Regions from separate parts of the Homo sapiens genome. Here regions 2 and 3 are each linked to region 1. Evidence: promoter capture Hi-C in 16 types of primary human blood cells and fetal thymus (Javierre and others, 2016). All regions are on one chromosome and are shown on one strand. Each heading gives the region's core, a stretch centred on a gene start or on the middle of the fragment in contact. The rest is flanking DNA. Distances are from core to core; before and after follow the strand shown. Region 1 holds the start of ITM2B (integral membrane protein 2B). Region 2 has its middle 110 kb from the start of CYSLTR2. Region 3 has its middle 130 kb from the start of CYSLTR2.

Region 1 (3,905 bases), core at 1,049-3,548:
AACAGACAGAATAGAGATGTAAAGAACCTAAAAAGAAAAAAAAAATCCCTGTTGAAGCACATAATGCAAATCTATTAAAATATTTTAGAATTCAGTTCCCCACTTCCATTTTTTCCTCCCTCCTTTGGTAAGCATAAAAACAAACATGGTTGCTGGTGATATGCAGAGCTGGAATCAGATTCATCTTGCTCTCTCAAACTCAACGTCAAAAAGGAAAACAAAGGTCCTCTAAGACTCCCTTTACATTTGGTAGTTAATAGTAACTTATAACTATGTTTTTAACTTTCTTTTGTTGAGTCATGGACTCTCCTCCTCCCTGGCTCCTAAGTTTTCAGGGTCAACGGGCAACCTTTTCTAAATCACAAGACTGGATTTGCTATGTTTGGTCTTGCTCCAGCGTCTTTATTATCCCTGCTGTTGTGCACTACACAGTTCTGTAGACACATGAGATAAAATGGAGAAAAAAAACCAGGAGATTATTCCCAGACCGGTTGCCAACTGATTTTAAACTGTTGCTCACTGCAAGTACACAAAATAATGAATGGTCTTTTATTCATGAGTCTTTCAAAATAGAAATCCTGGGGCGGGGAGGATTTCTAGTTTTGTCAACCTCATTTGTTCATCCTTTGCCTCAGCTTCCTAGTCTGTTCAGTAGTGTTGTTCACGAAGAATTTTGTTTTATTTTCTTCTGTAATTCCTTTTTTCCCCCCGGAGTATAATGACAGCCAGATTCTTCTCTATCATCTACTGCAAAATGCCTTGAGTATTTTTCTACCATCTTATTTTAACACAGAACGAAGTAGGAAGGATGTACATATAATTATTTATAATCCTCCAGATCTTGCTTCCAGAAATACTTAGTCTTCAACTGTAATGTCTCAGGGAACCTATTAAACTAGGGAGCTGGAAGCAGTCGTTGACTTTGAGGAATTAGATAACATTAGATACTATGAAAGTCCAGTCCATAGAGTCAACCTCACAGAGCCGATGCCTGCACAAGGGCGACCCAGGAGTTTAAATAAGTTGCTGCAAGTATGGTTAGCTACTGTTAAAACTCACCAGAACTGGAACCTAACTCATCCTCCTCTTGGTTGAGCAGATTTCATTTTGACAGGAATTTCTGAATACCCAAAGCAAACTCAAAGTCTGGCCTGGGTTTCTATCTCAGCCCAGGATGCTTCTGAAATACATGAACAGAAGGATTTGGAGATCTTGGGCTGTTTCCCTGGGACTTATGATCTGACATTCTATGGAAATACCCAACTCCCTCCTTGAGCAGGGCCAAATCCCCAAAGATCTCAGACTGAACCCACTTTTTTCAGGGTTGGCCCAAGGCAGAGCTGACACAGCTGTAACATTCTAGAGCACACCCACAACTCTGGATGAACCAGGACAGAATGGGGTGGAAGGATACAAGATAACACATTTGTCCAAGGGGGCCGTCTGTTGACACAGTAATGAACGCAGTAACGACGGGAGCCAGTATTCTACCTCGCATTAGTTGTAAATGAAACGTCTTCAAAACATGAGAATTTTGCGTTATCCTTAATTATTTTTTCATTTTGCAGAAAAATAAAGGGACTCGTCATCGAGTACTTTGAGTCACAAATCAGCCAAGTGTGCATGTGGTTTTTTTCCAAGTACGCACAAGAGTGGAACATTTCGTTTTACGAGTGTGAGATGTTTGAAATACAAATCTGCCAAGAGCTTCCTCCACATTGGTCTGGGACTAGGCAGAACAGGCCCTGACCTCCTGAGAGAGGGAAGGAAGACCAGGCAGGTCTGAGCCAGGTAAACGCCCTTGGGTGAGGTCCGTGAAAGATAAAGTCAGATCTCAAGGACAGAGAGCTTTAAACATGTTTGTGCTCCACTGAGTCGGTTACCTAATAAGTGAGAAAATGAAGATGTGGATGCACAAAAATTCCATGGCCTTTAGGCTCGCGGTGGGGACAGGGTACAGGGAAGCGGCGGTCTGGTGCTGCCAAAGGTTAGTCCCTTGTACCCGGCGAACTCAGGAAAGTTCACTCGATTTCGCTACAAACCTGCAGCACTCGGCCTGGAGGTAACCTGGTTGGGAGCGAATTCAGAACTGGAAATTCCAGGCGGCCCAGAGGGACACCCATCCCTCTCCGAGGCGCGCCGGGATCCGGCGCCCAGCTGCGGGGCGAGGGCAGGGTCCCGCGCAGCACCCCACCCCCGGCCGCTGGCCCCGCCCCCGCCCCCGCCCCGCCTCCCAGGGGATGTGCGAGCAGTCTCCGCCCTCGCGCGGGAGCTGGGAGGCTGCGAGATCCCTACCGCAGTAGCCGCCTCTGCCGCCGCGGAGCTTCCCGAACCTCTTCAGCCGCCCGGAGCCGCTCCCGGAGCCCGGCCGTAGAGGCTGCAATCGCAGCCGGGAGCCCGCAGCCCGCGCCCCGAGCCCGCCGCCGCCCTTCGAGGGCGCCCCAGGCCGCGCCATGGTGAAGGTGACGTTCAACTCCGCTCTGGCCCAGAAGGAGGCCAAGAAGGACGAGCCCAAGAGCGGCGAGGAGGCGCTCATCATCCCCCCCGACGCCGTCGCGGTGGACTGCAAGGTCCGAGCCCGGGGAGGTCGAGGAAGCGGGTGCTGGGCCCGGCCGGGGAGGGCTGCGCGGACTGCAGCGGCAGTGCGCCCCGAGGTGGCGGGCGCGGGGCTCGCGCCGCGGGGACAAGTCCCCGAGAGAGCCCGGCGCTCCCGTTTCCTGTGGGTCCGCAGCTCCTTTGTAAGGAAGTGCGTGTGCTGGAAGCGGTGCCTGACGCGGGGTCGGGGGCTTGGGAGGCCTGGAGAGGGAACGATTGGCTAATTGTGCCGAATTCCCGGTCGTTTGTGCAGTCCGGGGAGCGTGCGTGCAGCCAGGACTTGGCTTGTTCGATCTGGGGACCGGCAGCGACAGGCACAACAACAACAACCGAGTTTGGCACTTCCTTCCCAGTATAAATAATGTACCTAAAATGGCTGACATCATTACAAGCCTAAACCTCTGTTGTTTCCCACTTTCGTTTCTAGGCTTGAACAGCACTTGGACTAAGTCCAGCAACTGTAAGCGTCTTAATTTTAAAAGCGTTTCTTTACCTCCTTTTTCCACGGCCCTTCGGTAGTGGCAGGTGAACTTCACCTGGAGAGGGGACGAAGGGACAGTCCGCCCGAAGTAGGTTTGGGCTGTCTCTTACCATTACTAGTAAAGGCCAGTAATGACTATGTGGATGTTAGTGAAAAACCAATTGTTGGCATTTAAATTGTATCAGCGTCTTTGTGAGGACTCCTGCTGCGTGAAACTAAACATGAGAAATTTGCCCCCGGGTCCCTAATAAAATTCTCCTTTATTTTACAAAATCTCCCTTTAATCCTAGGAAAATTCATGAAGTGGGGCTGTTACTGTGTTGACTTTTAGTAGGTTACGATCATATTTACTTAAATATGAGTGTAATTGTCTCATAAGTTAAAAAAGCCCACAGCCTCTTACCCAGACCCTTTTTAGGCTGCAAAAATTAGAAATTAACTGTAAAGTTATGTTGCTTATCTTATTTTTTGTTGTTGTTAGCATTTTTCAAGACCTATTATCAGTAGGGTAAATTTAGTTTTAACTTAAAAAAATTGGTGTGCCACGTATGAATAATGGGAGTTTTTATATGGACGAATGAAAATTATTGCTGAAAAACAGGCCACTAATATACTGTAAAAAATTCACAATATAATGGTAATCTAGACATCATATTATAATTTATTATATTCTGAATATAATCTATCTTCAGAATATAATGGTAATCTTACTTTCTGGAAATGTTCTGATAAAAACAGACACGTCAGAGGTTGATTTCTAAATGACTTGCCTTGCCTTGAAATAGGAACAGTGAACTGATTCCCTAAAAGGATTAAAGGTTTTGGTTTT
Region 2 (3,922 bases), core at 90-2,589, 530 kb after region 1:
AGACAGATTTGTAGAGCTGGGGTTATTTACAGCGTTCCAAGTTCCAGTCTGCAATGAACATTAATAATTCTTGATTTCTTTAGTGAGTCCAGTGCCCTTCTTTAGTGAGTCCAATGTCCATTTGAACCACAGGAGATGTCAGCCACAGGAGAGACTGTAAGAATGTCGGGCCAAATATTTTAGAGATGAAAGATTAATGCTCACCAGTGTTAGAACACTCCCAGCTCTTTCTATCTTTGCTTTTCCACCTGCTCTTCTTCCCTGCCTGGTGAACTCATCCTCATCCTTCAAGGTCCAGCTCAAGAGATACTTCTGTGAAGGTTCCTCTGACTTCTCATATCGGGAGATGAGAGCCCTGGACATAATGTTATTGTGTTTATTGTTCTCTTGAGGTCACTTAGCCATGGCCTAGCTTTCTCACTAGACTAAAAACCCCTTAAGGTGAGACTGTCTCTCTTATTTGTCCCTCTCTCACAGCCTATAGAAGTTCCTGATGACACATAGCTTGTACTCAATCAATAGATGGTGAATTCAGAAGCCTATGTAAATAACACTGGGGGGATAGACAGGAATCAGCATTTCTTAAGGATGCCCCATGTGTCCAGCACTTGCACATATTATCTCATTAAATCTTCTCAACAACCTTCCAAGATAAATATAAATATGATTATTGGGACTCAGAAGTAGTAAGGATCTTAATAAGACCCTTAGGTAATAAGAGACAGGGCTGAAAGTCAAACCTGGATCTCTTTGACTCCCAATCACATTCTCTCTCCACTCCACGGTAAGCTGAGTTACCTTAAAAGCTTCCTGTAAAAAAGAACAATATATTCATTTGCCTTAAATAGAACATGCTAACGAGCACAAATCACTTCATTTGGAAATTGCCATTCTGAAGATATTAACTTAATTTTAGTCTCTCATATGCAAAACTTTTGAAGAGTGTAAGTATCCTTAAGTGCACAGGGAAGTGGTTCTTTCAGGAAAAATTTGAGTATGGCCCATGCACATATTCAGTGTCATCATTAAATTAAAAGTATTAAGTGGTTTCATTACATAGGAATCCATGTCATGGTAAGTTTCTTTCAGAGGACCAGTTTAGAAATGCAGCCCAGGATGTGTCAGTACCTCTCAAAAGGAGAAACATCCTACAGTAATAATAACAAAGTGATCTCAACCTAGCAAAGATTATAATAGAATAGCCCCATTTATAGATAAGCTTAGATCTTAGAGAAGGAAGGTGAGGAGGAGTAGGAGTCACCTTTCATCAGCACTTACTATATGCCAGGGACTGTGCTAAGTATTACTGGCCTCAGCTCGATTCCCTGCAAGAACTCCATGACATAGACACTTATCCTCATTTTGAGTATAAAGAAGCAGGGGTTTAGGGAGGTTAAATGACTTCTCTTAGTCCCACTGCTTGTAAATGACTCTTGCAGTCTTAGACTGACACCAAAATTTAAGCTTCTCTACTAACACCAAAAGACAGTAAAAATAGTGGGGGTGTTAACTGTGACAGCCCTTTTAAAATACATTGTCAGCATCTATGAAAATTTAAATGTGCATACCCTACAACTCAAAAATTCTACTTCTTAGTGTTAGCTCAAGAAAAATTCTTGCACATGTGTACAAAATTGTTTGTGATAGCAGAAAACTGGAAACAATTTTTAGGTTTATGTCCTTCCAAAGGAAAATCACTTTAAAAAGTGATACTGTATCCATGCTATGGAATAATGCATACCTGTCAAGTTCTCAAAGACATAATGTTGCTGTAGAGGTAGCAGATGGTAGTATGATACAATAAAATACTACACAAAATCCACATCTTAAAACATTAGCATATATGCATATATGTATATTTGCAAAATTGATGGAAAGAGAATGGAAGGATACAGACCAATCTAATAGCAGTGGTTACCTTCATTGTTGGGGTAGGAAATGGACCAGGATTGCAGGGAGTGGGCAAAGGGAATTTGAGCCTTATTTGTAATGCAAAATGAATGCTTCCTTCCTCCTTTTCTCCCTCTCTTCTTCCTGGTTCAGTTTCAAACCTCATTCTACCATGAGCATATCTGATTGGCAGACTCTAACCCATATCCAGAAGCCTAACTACAAGGAAGTCTGGAAATGTCAGTTTTAGCTTTCTACCCTCCCCTTGCTATCATAGAAAAGGGTTGGGCTGCATGCTGAGCTCTCAATACACACAATAATAATTCAGGCAATAAATACTTTGGCCAAATTTCCAAATAAAATCAGGTTAAAGGAAAATGATAGAATTGTGAATCACATGGATTTTTATATAACTTCTTTCTCTATGAAGTCAACTATAATCTGAAACTGCAATGGTATAAGCACACAAGAGAAAGAAGCCATGCAAAAGATCTTGAACTTTTATGAACTCTGACATTTCTGTTATCCTCCCCAGGGTGCTACTCCTCTATCTAACCTGTTGAAAGACAGCCCCATGAAAGAAGCATCTATTTGGTGCTATTATAAGTGAATTGTTTTCATAATTCATTTAAGTTATTTAAAAATGTATCTAGAAATGCAACTGATTTTTGTGCATCAGCTTTGTATCCTGCCACTTTCTTGAAATCGTTTATTAGCCCTAGCAGTTTTTTGGTGGAATCTTTTGGGATTTCTACAGATAAAATTATATCATCTGTGAATAGATCATGTGACTTCTTCCTTCCAATTTGTATGCCTTCAGTTTAATTTAATTTTTGTCTAATTGCTCTGACTAGAACTCCCAGTATTATGTTGAATAGTAATGGTGAGAGTGGGTATCCTTGTCTTATTCTTTATCTTAGATGAAAAGCCTTCAGTCTTTTCCTATTGAGTATGATGGTCTACAGCCATACCACCCTGAACATGCCTGACCTCATCTGATCTCAGAAGCTAAGAAAGGTCGGGCCTGGTTAGTACTTGGATGGGAGTATAATGTTAGCTGTGGGCTTTTCATATATGGATTTTATTATATTGTTTATTATATATATTGAAGGTAGTTTTCTTCTCTTCCTAGTTTGTTCAGTGTTATTATCATAAAAGGGCATTGAATTTTGTCAAATGCTTTTTCTGAATTGATTGAGATGATAATGTGATTTTGTCCTTCAATTTGTTAATGTGGTATATTTCATTGATTGATTTTTATATGGTGAACCATCCTTGCATTCCAGGTATAAGTGCCACTTAGTCATGGTGCATGACCCTTTTAATGTGCTGTTGAATTCAGTTTACCGGTATTTCTTTGAGGATTTTTGCACTGATATTCATCAAGAATGTTAGTCTGTAATTTTCTTTTCTTGTTTTTAATATCTTTGTCCACGGTGTCAGAGTAATATTAGCCTAATATAATGAGTTTGGAAGTGTTACCTCCTCTTCAATTCTTTAGAAGAGTTTGAGAAGGATTGATAAGTTTTAAAGAATGTATGGTAGAATTCTTCAGTGAAGCCACTAGTCCTGGGTTTGTTTGTTTGTTTGGAGGTTTGGAGGTTTTTGACTAGTGCTTCAATCTCCTTGCTAGTTATAAGCCTGTCCAGATATTTTATTTCTTCAGGATTCAGTCTTGGTAGGTTGTGTCTAGCAATTTATCCATTTCTGCTAGGTTATACAACTTATTGGGTGTAATTGTTCATAGTAGTCTTTTGTAATCCTTTTAACTTTTGCAATATCAGTTGTAATGCCTTCTCTTTCATTTCTAGTTGTATCTATTTGAGTCTTTTCTCTTAGTCAACTAATCATTTGTCAATTTTGTTGATCTTAAAAAAACTCAGTTTCATTGGTTTCTCTATTGTTTTGCTATTCTCTATCTCATTTATCTCTACTGTAATCTTATTATCTCCTTTCTTCTAACTTAGGTTTAGTTTGTTCTTTTTCTAGTTTCATGAGGTGGAAGTTTAGGTTATTAACTTGAACTCTTTTT
Region 3 (4,158 bases), core at 1,502-4,001, 550 kb after region 1:
GGACACGTGAACCAACTCAAGACCTCCTGGTTAGCCAGGGTGATGCAGGCAATGACGATAGCTGAATTTACGCAAAAGTTTTCTCCTTCCTGAGTGCTATGTTATTGTGCCTGCAGATGTTGTAATGGGCTGTACCCGTTGGCCTCCAGCCAGGAAGTAGTGTTTGCGAAAGAGCACCATCTGCAGTGGTAGTGGTGGAATTTGTGTTTGTTTTATGTTAGCCAGTGAAGGTACTCTGGTGTCTCAGGCAAGGGGTGGGGCCATGGAGCTCCCAAATGTGCCTGTCCATGGGGTTACATTATTGGGGGGCTGCGGGGAGGGGTGGAGGGGCAAAGATGGCTTGAGGCTGGGTTAGATAAGTCAACATTCTGGCTCTCCACGTACAGGCACAAGCTGCAGCCCCAAAGGGGGTCAGGTAGCAGTTCTCTAGCCGCTAGGGTAATGTTCCAGGGAGGAGCGCAGCTGCCTCTGTTCCACAAAAAATATCCACAAAAGGAGCAAGGGGTAGCAGGGTACAGTAAGCCCCACTCAGCTCCCATGCACTTGGCAAGGCAGGTTTCACACACAGTGTTCTGCTTACAGCAGCTAGCTGGGTTCCAGGCAGCCTGCACTCAGAACTCAAAATTGCCCCAGGCCATAAGCCTTCCCCATAAAGACAGAAACTGCAGCTGTCAGGCCATGCCCTCCTGGTCCACCCATGAAGTGGGGCATCCAGCTTTTACACCCATGATGATAGCACACTTCCCACTCGCCCCTTGGTTCTGGCCAACAGGGTTAGTACTCACCCAAGATTATTTCACAAATATTATTTGGGAGCATCTCTCAACCTGAGACTGCAGCTCAAGTTAGCTGGCAGACTTCCATGAGGTCACCTATGAGATAGGATGAGGAATGGCTTCCCTTTATCCTTACTGGAATATGGGAGTGCACCCCCACCCCCAACCACTATGTTTATGAGCCCACTGAACAAAATTTAGGATGGCTGAAAAAGGGGCTGATGACATGCACAAGTTAGGTCAGCTTCCTGTTCTTTGTTTCACAGCTAGAATGAGCAGATAATGCATAATTACCCCAAAAACTCAGTCCGGATGCTTACTTGGGGGTCCCACCGTCAGTCTCTAAGAGGGCCTACTAGCAAGCCAAGAGATATTTTTCAAAGGTGAATTGCTCCTTTACTTGCTTCAAAACCTTAGGGGAATCCCCTGTAAAAACACCACTGCAACTTTCTACAGGCCTCAATGGACATCATAATCTGTCACAAATACTTTGGGCACTGTTACTCTGCCATTACATCCTTGACCAGTGACAATTCTCTTGTTCCAGGTTCCACTCAAAGTGCTTATCTTTCAACTAGTAATAGGTAGAAGCAGAATACCCAAACATGGTATATGTTTACTATAAAATTCAAACATTTTCACCAAGTAGTTTCTTTTGTCCCATTGGTAGTAGTTACAAGATGTAGCAACTAGTCTTTGACTTTGAAGGTTATCCCAATGTGCCTCAGACTACTTAGCCTCAAAAAACTTCTCTGAGGTATCAAGCCTAATGTTTTATAGGTTTTATCTCCTAACAGCTGGCATCCTCCAACATAGCAACACATATTGGGTTACAGCAACTTTTTGCTCCCCCGACGTCTATCTCATCTATGTCATGGGACACCATGCTTTTCTATGAGATGATGAGATAATCAAGTTCCCTGCAAACTAACTTGTGGCACAAGGTCAGAAAATTGATGTAACCCAGAGGCAATACCGTGAAGGTATGCTGTCTTCCCACTAAGTAAAAGCAGATTACCTCTGGTGTTTTCTGCTTTTGGGGGTAGAGATCAATAGCTACATACCACCACATGCCATGAGATGTCTATACATGTCTCAGTAAAGAGACCATATCTACAAGAGTAATTGCAATTGGAATCACTCCCTGATTGAGGTTACAATAACTTTCTGTCATTATCCAAAGCCTGTTCATTTTTAATACTGGCCAAAATGTCAAAAAGGTATGTGAAAGTACAGTCATCCCTTGGTATCTGTGAGGGATTGGTTCCAGAACCTCCCACAGATACCAAAATCCATGAATGTTCAAGTCCCTGATATAGGCAAATGGCATAGTATTTGCATACAACATATACACATCCTCCCATATACTTTAAATCATCTCTAGATTACTTATGATACCTAATACAATATAAGTGCCATGTAAATAGTTGTCATACTGTATTGTTTAGAGAATAATGACAAGAAAAAACATCTGTACATGTTTGGTACAGATGCAATTTTTTCTCAAATATTTTTTATTTGTGGCCAGTTGAATCCATGGATACAGAATCCACAGATATAGAGGGCTGACTGTATATCTTTTCAGGTCCATAATGATGGAATTTATGTTGTTAATTTTACCAAATACTATGGATTGAATTGTGTTCCCCCAAAATTCATATGTTAAAGCCCTAACCCCCAGTGTGATTTTATTTGGAGATAGAGTCTTTAGCAGATTATTAAGGTTAAGTGAGGTCCTAAAAATAGAGTCCTAATGTTGCAGAACTGTGGCCTTATAAGAAAAGGAAGATTCTCTCTCTCTCTCTCTCTCTCTCTCTCTCTCTCTCTCTCTCTCTCTCTCCCCTTTCCTCTGTCTGGCTTTTTGTGGCTGTGTGTTTGTTGTTTAACCGGTAGATTGAACCCAGTGTTTCTGCCAAATGAAATGCATGGATCAATGCAGCTTGATCTAAAGTTATATTCTTTACTCTTTGGTTTAGTACCTCCACATCTATTTCCACAAGTATTCAAAATATTTGCTGATATAAACTGGTAACCTTTTGCAATTGTTTAGTTATGAAGTCTTTTCCTTCTGGGTTTGACTTTGTAATTGGATTCCCGGTCACGCTGGGTTCTGACCCTGGTTTGAAGTGTAAAAATAATGAGAAGGAGGGAAGATGGGGTTTGAGGAGAATTGGTCAACCCTTTCCAGGTAATTAGCTTAGATAAGGTCATTTTAAAGTTTCAAGCAAAATAACCATAGCCTCATAAGACTGTAAAGACAGCCTGCTTCCACTGACAAGAGAGTGCCAGTGGGGTTTTGCTGTGGAGTGTACTCTAAATATGGGGGAACATATTCACTTTTTTACAGTGTGCTCCAACATTCCTTCATTCCAGATTTCAGGGTTCCAGTCTTTCCCAAACAATGCCTGAATTCTCATACAAGAAACCTGGCAAAACTGTGACTTCAACTCATGTTATAATTCAAAAACCCTTTGGTGTCAAATTTTGAGGGCTTTTGTTTGTTCATTGATTTGGTTTGTTGGTTTATTCTTTTTGTTTTTATTTTTTTTATTTTTTTCGGTTCTAAATTACTGGCTTAAAGCATGGACTGAAGATCAGGAATTGGAACTTGTTAGTTTCTCTTTGTAAGTGTCCAGACCATGGGAAACAAGCCTCCCATTCCTAGCGCTGATTTTCATACCATTCAGAGTTCTTGATTGCAAGCAACATAATCCAACTCTAGCTAATTGGAGCAAAGAAATAGTTTATTAAAAAGTTATTTGGCGGCCGGGCATGGTGGCTCACGCCTGTAATCCCAACACTTTGGGAGGCCGAGGAGGGCGGATCACGAGGTCAGGAGATTGAGACCATCCTGACTAACACGGTGAAACCCCGCCTCTACTACTAAAAAAAAATGAAAAAAGAAAAAAAGTTATTTGGCAACTCTCCAACTTATCATGAGGGCTGGAAAACAACGTTCAGGACTACTCAGGCAAGAACAATACCCCAAATCACACTTCAGAGGGGGCCCTGTGAGTTCACATGGGCAACACTGCTGAGCACTAGATGCTGGCACTTGTACCCTCCACACTGCTGTCCCTCTCTATGACATGCTGTCACTCGTCATGCCACTGCTGCCTGAAAAACTTGATTTTTCTGAAAATACTACTGCTGCTCTGTCCCCAAAGAGAGTTCCCTGTGATGCTCATGAGTCATAGATGCATCTGGTCTGCTGAGCCTAGGTCATATACCTGGTCCCTAGCTGTAAGGGAGGCTGGAAAAGTGGGTGTCTGGTATTTTCAGCTCTTCAGGGAAAGATACCTTCATCAAATAGATGAATTTCTCCAACTCACCCCTAGAAAGGGGTTTCAGATCCTAGACAGCCAAAATAAATGTAAATGTC

Evidence for each region. Contacts are between HindIII fragments. The CHiCAGO score rates a contact against its expected background, and 5 or more counts as called.
Region 2: a contact is called between a fragment that was not itself captured here and the fragment with the promoter of ITM2B in region 1, in 2 of 17 cell types (fetal thymus and non-activated CD4 T cells). The highest score is 5.4, in fetal thymus.
Region 3: a fragment that was not itself captured here is called in contact with the fragment with the promoter of ITM2B in region 1 in 1 of 17 cell types (neutrophils); the score reaches 6.8 in neutrophils.

What each region holds. Positions count from the first base shown.
Region 1 is chr13:48,230,908-48,234,812 of GRCh38, forward strand. ITM2B (integral membrane protein 2B) reads left to right here and starts at 2,299. Exons shown (of 6, transcript NM_021999.5): 1 at 2,299-2,570. The coding sequence starts at 2,454. RefSeq lists silencers at 2,175-2,534, 2,545-2,754 and an enhancer at 2,810-3,507. The HindIII fragment of the contact is 15,181 bases long and covers 1-3,905 here.
Region 2 is chr13:48,762,045-48,765,966 of GRCh38, forward strand. No RefSeq gene overlaps it. Among named protein-coding and RNA genes, the nearest start is that of CYSLTR2, 110 kb to the left of the region's middle. The HindIII fragment of the contact is 245 bases long and covers 1,218-1,462 here.
Region 3 is chr13:48,783,378-48,787,535 of GRCh38, forward strand. No RefSeq gene overlaps it. Among named protein-coding and RNA genes, the nearest start is that of CYSLTR2, 130 kb to the left of the region's middle. The HindIII fragment of the contact is 7,537 bases long and covers 1-4,158 here.